Regions from separate parts of the Homo sapiens genome. Here region 1 is linked to region 2. The links are contacts of gene promoters, found by promoter capture Hi-C in human tissues and cell types (Jung and others, 2019). All regions are on one chromosome and are shown on one strand. Each heading gives the region's core, a stretch centred on a gene start or on the middle of the fragment in contact. The rest is flanking DNA. Distances are from core to core; before and after follow the strand shown. Region 1 overlaps WIPF2 (WAS/WASL interacting protein family member 2). Region 2 holds the start of ACLY (ATP citrate lyase).

What was found. The method cuts DNA at HindIII sites, captures the fragments that hold promoters and counts their contacts. A contact is called where the count stands out against the background at its distance.
Region 1: a contact is called between a fragment that was not itself captured here and the fragment with the promoter of ACLY in region 2, in 1 of the 25 tissues and cell types used here (spleen).

Annotation. Positions count from the first base shown.
Region 1 is chr17:40,269,344-40,273,105 of GRCh38, forward strand. All of the region lies in intron 5 of WIPF2 (WAS/WASL interacting protein family member 2), which reads left to right. Among named protein-coding and RNA genes, the nearest start is that of CDC6, 17 kb to the right of the region's middle. The HindIII fragment of the contact is 6,236 bases long and covers 1-3,762 here.
Region 2 is chr17:41,917,066-41,920,648 of GRCh38, forward strand. ACLY (ATP citrate lyase) reads right to left here and starts at 1,886. Exons shown (of 29, transcript NM_001096.3): 1 at 1,815-1,886. RefSeq lists silencers at 1,289-1,528, 2,009-2,268. The HindIII fragment of the contact is 39,518 bases long and covers 1-3,583 here.

The DNA.
Region 1 (3,762 bases), core at 994-3,493, 1.6 Mb before region 2:
AAAATAAATTTAAGAAACCTAGCCAGGCGTGGTAGCGTGTGCCTGTGGTCCCAGCTACTTGGGAGGCTAGGATGGGAGGATCACTTGAGCCCAGGAGGCAGAGGCTGCAGAGAGCTGAGATCACGCCACTGCACTCCAGCCTAGGCAGCAGAGCAAGACCCTGCCTCAAAACCCGCCCCCCCAAAACCCAAAAACTAGCATTATTGGTTCATAGAGTTTGTTTCAAGAATTTTTTCTTTGCAGAGTAAAACACTGTCTTTTTTTTTTTTTTTTTTTTTTGAGATGGAGTCTTGCTCTGTCGCCCAGGCTGGAGTGCAGTGGCGCGATCTCGGCTCACTGCAAGCTCCACCTCCCAGGTTCACGCCATTCTCCTGCCTCAGCCTCCCGAGTAGCTGGGACTGCAGGCACCCGCTACCATACCCGACTAATTTTTTTGTATCTTTAGTAGAGATGGGGTTTCACCATGTTAGCCAGGATGGTCTCTATCTCCTGACCTTGTGATCCGCCTGCCTTGGCCTCCCAAAGTGCTGGGATTATAGGCATGAGCCACTGCACCCGCCAACACTGTCCATTTTTAAGGGAATTTGAGAAAAATAGAAACCATCATACTTTTCTCAAAATTAGGGTTAATCTTGGATTACAAAAGCCTGTCTCCCATCCCAGGACTTCTTTTGGAAATTGTTTTTTAGGGACTGGAGTTCTGGCTCTGTCACTTGAAACAGTCTTAAAACTGGATCTGGGGCCGGGTGCGGTGGCTCATGCCTGTAATCCCAGCACTTTGGGAGGCTGAGGCGGGCAGATCATGAGGTCAGGAGATTGAGACCATCCTGGCTAACACGGTGAAACCCTGTCTCTCTACTAAAAATACAAAAATGAGCCGGGCGTGGTGGCGGGTGCCTGTAGTCCCAGCTACTGGGGAGGCTGAGGCAGGAGAGTGGCATGAACCCGGGAGGCGGAGCTTGCAGTAAGCCGAGATCGTGCCACTGTACTCAAGCCTGGGGGACAGAGCGAGACTCCGTCTCAAAAAAAAAAAAAAAAAAGAAAAATAACTGGATCTGACAAAGAGCCCAGAAGCTTATTGGAGACAGCAGAACCTGGCTGGGATGAGGGAGGGAGCTGGAGAAGCCAAACAGATCACTCTTACCCTGCTCTATTTTGCCATTCCAGGTCGTCTCATCGCTGTCACCTGCCTGGTGTCTAGCTGGTGTCGGTGTCCTTGTGAACCTGGCTAACCCTGTTTACCTTGCTGCCCTGGCCTAGGAGTAGATACAAATTCTCAGGGCCTTGAGGAATCTGGGTTTTAGGGAATATTTTTGAGGGCTTAAAGAAGCTTCTATTCTTAAAGAGCTTTAGTTTGAGTAGATTTGGAATCAAAACAAGGCTCAGAGATCTGCTGGGAGTTACAAGATTTCTCTTTAATTATTGCATCTAGTGTCCCCTGTTTCTACTGAACAAAGCTTGGAAACAGTGAGGAAGAGTTGACATTCTGAGTGTGTCTTACGGGAAGCAAAAACATTTATTGGGCTTATTGTGCCAGATTGTGTGTGTGTGTGTGTGTATGTTATTCTATTACTGTGTTACATGCTTAACTATAGTCACTACAGCAATTCTGATAGTAATCAGGAGGAATAATAAGATACTCTTTTCTTTGAGACAGTCTTGCTGTGTCACCAGGCTGGAGTGCAGTGGCGCGATGTTGGCTTATTGCAGCCTCCATCTCCCAGGTTCAAGCTCCTCCCACCTCAGGCTCCAGAATATCTGGGATTGCAGGCGTGTGCCACCACGCTTGGCTAATTTTTGTACTTTTTTAAAATTTGAGGTGAGGTTTCATCATGTTGCCCAGGCTGATCTCGAACTCCTGGCATCAAGCAATCTGCCTGCCTCAGCCTCCCAGAGTGTTGGGATTACAGATGTGAGCCACTATGCCTAGCCAAGATACCGTTTTACTACTAAAAACAGTTTTGTCTGTTAAGCTGAGTAGTCTCTTCACATACTATTTAGGTCACAACTATTTATTGGGCCACGTGCTGTGGCACATGCCTATAATCCCAGCCCTTTGCTGAGGCGGGAGCATTGCTTGAGCCCAGGAGTTTGAAGCTGCACTGAGCTATGATTCCACCACTGCGCTTTAACCTGGGTGACAGAGTGAGACCCTGTCTCTTAAAAAAAAAAAAAAATTGAACATGGCCTAGATACCAAAAGATGCACTTCCAAGCCACTGGATTGTAAATCTGGTTGGGAAGATACTATGCAGAATACTGGGAGTTACGAAAAGCAGTGTGGGAGAGTAGAAAGAGCAGACATGTGCCTTGCCTATTTTTATTTGATCTGTGACCTTAAACAAATAACCTGAGTCCCAGTTTTCTCATTTGTGAAATGGGGATAATATTACATACTTCGCATGTGTGGCTATAAGACTTTTTAAAGATTTAATACACCGAAAATGCCTGGAACATAATAGATACCCAATAAATGGTAGCTGCTATTATTGTTAGTTAATACAGAGCATAGGAGTAAGACAAACACGTTAGAATCTATTATATTCCAGTCATATTGCCATTTCTTGACACATGCTTTTGACGTTACCTTCTACTTGGTGGCAAATTTTCATCTTTTAAGAGTGAATTTGATTTTTGGAATCACCAAAAAGCAGATTCAGACATAGGTATGAACATTTTCTTTTTTTTTTTTTTGAGGCAGAGTTTTGTTCTTGTTGCCCAGGCTGGAGTGCAATGGCACGATCTTGGATCACCGCAACCTCCGCCTCTTGGGTTCAAGCAATTCTCCTGCCTCAGCCTTCCGAGTAGCTGGGATTACAGGCATGCACCACCACATCTGGCTAATTTTTGTATTTTAATAGAGACTGGGTTTCTCCATGTTGATCAGGCTGGTCTCGAACTCCCGACCTCAGGTGATCCTCCCGCCTCGGCCTCCCAAAGTGCTGGGATTACAGGCGTGAGCCACCGTGCCTGGCATAGGTATGAATATTTTCATTGGTGATGGTGGTGGGGCGACCTCAGAAATGAAATGTGACCATCATATAATAGTGTTTACAGCTCTGACTGATAAACTTGCTTTGGAGGCAATTCCAAAAGAGGTGTTTGCAGTGTTTGAGCAATGAGACTGTTACTGGACATATGTAACTTCCCACAATGAATCTGCTGTATATATTTTGAAAATCGCTCATTGATATTAGAGTAAGTGACATAGCCTGTATATGCTGTGGGAGAGCAGAGGTGGAGGGACTCAGAAGAAAATGGATTGCTTTGGGAAAGCCTTGAGAAGATGGGACTTGGATTGAACCTTGAAGGGTAGGGAGGATTTGGTAGTAAGGGAAGGGGGGATATCAGAATATTGTGAGGGGAGTCACAAGAGCAAAGCATATAATTTGGTTTATTCAGCAAACATTGATTGAGCACCTGCTGTGTGCTGTACATTTGGCTGAACTTGGGAACCCAGAAGGAGGAACTGCTCTGACATCAAGGGGTACACAGTATACTGGGGAAAGAGCACACAGAATAAATAATTATAATAGTCTATTCAAGTGGTAGGTATGCACAAGCTGCAGTGGAAGTGCAGAGGAGGGCTCCTAACCTAGCCTAGCAATAAGAAGGGAAGAGGAGAAGCCAAGCTCAAGCTGATTGGTGTGGTAGGTTACTATGTAAGCAAAGGCTTTGAGACTTTATTTTTTTACTTATTTATGTATTTGAGATGGAGTCTCTCTCTGTTGCCCAGGCTGGAGTGCAGTGGCACAATCTGGGC
Region 2 (3,583 bases), core at 636-3,135:
GGCGGAGGTTGCAGTGAACCGAGATCCACCACTGCACTCCAGCCTGCCGACAGAGCAAGACTCTGTCTCAAAAAAAAAAAAAAAAAAAAAAGAATATTTGCTCTAGTGGAATCAGCAAATACCTACAAATACCTATCTGGGTTTGGGACCGCTCCCCAGAACGTCTTAGTCTGCCTCCCCAGTAGCTGAATGTGCTGTCAAACAAGTAACAGATGATTGGGCTGAGCTTGGACTCCAGGAACTGTTACTTGGTAACAGCTAAATGTGTAAACCATTTGGGGGAAATCATGCCAAGGAACCTGAAAACACACACATACACACATTCTCTAAGGGAGGGGCCTTATGAGCTGAATGGAGTCTTTCTGCAGACGGGTGAGTGACCCAGGATTGAGTTCACTTTTAGCAGACACTGAGAGAAGCAGCCCACACAGGAGGCTGAATGAAAGAAGCCTGTTCCCCAGAACACGCCCCTGGGACACAGCCAGGGGAAGGGAATCACTGGGGATGCTACTAAGGGTGCCTCTGGGAAAGACAAAAACACTCATTTGAAGGTTAGTATCTGCAGGATTGGGACTTACGTATGTAGGTATTTATTTATTTATTTTTTGAGAAGACAGGCAATCCCTGGAGTAAATTCTAGAGAGGCAGAATTCTGTGAGTGCCCCTTACTGCGGCAGGCATAGTGTCAGAACGGGGATGGAGCCATAAGCTGTCCAGTGTCTGAGGGGTCTTCCCACTACCGCCCCCCAAGCTGTTTAGGAAGGTTTCTAAGAGGTGAAAATCACCCATCTGGGCAAATGAGACCTACCAGCTGTCCCTCACCCCACATTTTAGTTCAGCTGAGCCAGCTGAAAACACAGAGGAAAGTTAAGGGTGGAGAGGAGTAGGCTAGCTGGCCAAACTGTGCTGTGCACTTTTCCTTATCGTCTCTTCCAAAATCCTCTTCCCAGGAAGACCTCCAGGGACCCCATAACGGCAGAACTCGGCACTGCACGGTATCTGCCAAGGTTGGAGACCGCGGCAGGCGCTGGGACTGGCCCATTGCCAGGCTCGACAGGAGGGCGGCGGCAGCATCCTCCAGCCCCTTGAGGACCTTTCCCCGGCCAGACTTGGCGTCAGCTCAAGGGTGGGGTGGCACCCCGGCCATCTGTCACTTAGGGGCTGGACTCGACGATACCTCCAGTGCGAGGAGGGTCCTTGCTGCGAGATTCCAGTCCTCGCGGCGAGACGAGGCGAGGCCTCGGGCACCCTGGGGCAGCCTGGCCCCGCGTGGCCCGCCCCGGAGGCGCGCATAGCTCATTCTCTCCACTTGGGCGTGGAGCTCAATTTTGTACCCACGGAACCAAGAAGGGCCTGAGCCCGGCCAGTGAGGAATCGGAGTGGGACCAGTCGCCACCGCTTTCTCTACTTCCCGTCCCGGCATCCGATGGGGGAACCCGGATGGAGCCAAAAGGCGTCCCGATGAGCCCGAGGAGCCTCGATAGCTGTGCCCGGGAGGGGTGAGGCGCGCCAGGAGGGGGACCATGCAATGTGGCAGAGGCAGAAGAGGCAAGGATGGCGGCAAGCCCCATGCAAACTCCCAGGAACTGGAATATGTGTGTGTCGCGCGGGGGGAGGGGAGGGGCGTCGACACGCGGCCACCGGCCGGGACCCCGGGCGAAGGCTAACCTAAAGCTAAGACCCTCAAAACTTCCGAGCAGGGCGCGTGGGCACCGAGCCCGCGTCGGGGAAGGCGGTTCCGGGTTGGGGGACGGAGGCAGGAAGCTCCTAGGGCGAGCGGGCTCCAGCCAGCGAAAACAGCCTCCCGTGCTCACCTCTGCCGAAGTCCGTGCGCGGCGCTTCTTCCACAGGCCCGACGAACCCCGCAAAATCCGGAGCACCCCAGCAGCCGGTAGCTTCCCGGGATCCGGCTTTTGTCCCGGCCCAGCCGGACTTTTCCCCGCCCCCATCGGCTCGCGGCGAGAACGGCCCCGCGATTGGCCACACGCGTTCCCTAGCCTGAGCGCCAGGGCTCCTCCCAATTCGCTGCTGGCTTGGCTCCGCCCCACGAGGGCGGGCCCCGGGGCCTGCTGGGACTTGTAGTCCCGCTGGCCCATCCACCGCCTCTTGGGAGCCTGCGGGGCCGGGGCGGGGCCCCGGGTGGGGAGATGGGCCGGGCTAGGCTGGGAGGAGAACGCGCGGTGCTGGGGGTTGTGGCCTGATCGCTTGAGGGGCTGGACAGATTGCCACTCGGGGAGTTGGGGGAGGGGCGGGTAGGATTAGCCCAACTGGCTGTAACGCAGCTTTGGGACCTGGAGTACCCTTGCTCCTTCCCTTGGGAGAAACGGACGTCTGCATCTCGGCCGCACCGAATCCGATTGCTTAGACAGTCTCCTTAAGCAGCAGTGTCTGGCAGGCCGCTTTCCTTTAGCACGTGGAGCCTCTCTCCTCCCTGGACTCTCCCCACTGGGCCGATGAGGCAAGGCTGAGCCGAGGCTAACAGAGCATACTTCCCAGTGTGGGATAAGGCAGGGGCCGCGGTAAGCAAGTGGGGCTAGGAGGGTGCAGGCACAGCGCTGTCCGTCCCACTCACCTGCTCGCCTCAGCACGGATCAGGGCGGAGCTAGGAATTCAATGCGAGATTCCAGCGAAGGGCTGGAGCCATCCCAGACAGTCTCTTGTTCCCACCAACCACAGGCTTAGACACTGGAATGAATGAACTGCTGTCTCCCCCTTCTCCATTACCTGAGACAGATCGAATTTTCCAAACCAAAAACTGGGACATCCAATCTGACAGGTGCTGGTGAACTTGTGGGGCAGAATATGTGAAATCAGTCCTGGAAATCAGGACATGTATTTACCACTCTGACATGCTGCAGCCTCCCTCCCTACCTGCACCCCAACCCTGTAGGTCCGGAGCTGCTCCCTAAGCCTAACAGCTGTCTAGCTCCAGGAAGGAGGCCAAAAGCGTCCACTGACCGACTCAGGTGAAGAGGTCAGCCCAGAATGCAGGGAAGCAGCAGGCCTGTCCCCCTGCCAAGCACTTTGGGTCATACTCACACTGCAACAGTGTTGCGACATTTGCAGACAAAATCTTCTCCAAGACCCCCTCCCCCAATCCTGTTGCTGCCAGGAGTAAGGTAACTGAACTTGCTACCCATGCCTGAATCAAGTGTTCCCTGATGATGTCACTTTCTGGTCCCTTCCCTCCCATTCATCTTTTTGAAATAGCAGTTCCTTATCACCTCTCTTCTCTTGTCCTAAAATGGGGGTGGCCAGTCTTGGTGGCTCACACCTGTAATCCCAGCACTTTGGAAGGCCAAGGTGGGGGATCACTTGAGGTCAGGAGTTCAAGACCAACAAGGCAAAACCCCATCTCTACAAAAAATACAAAAATTAGCCAGGCATGGTGGCACACGCCTATAAATCCCAGCTACTCTTGAGGTTGAGGCATGAGAATCGCTTAAACCCGGGAGGTGGAGGTTGCAGTGAGGTGAGATTGCACCACTGCACTCCAACCTGGGTGACAGAGAAGGATTCTATCTCAAAAAAAAAAAAAAAAAAAAAAAGATACACTCCAGGCAAGGCATGCTGTCTCATGCCT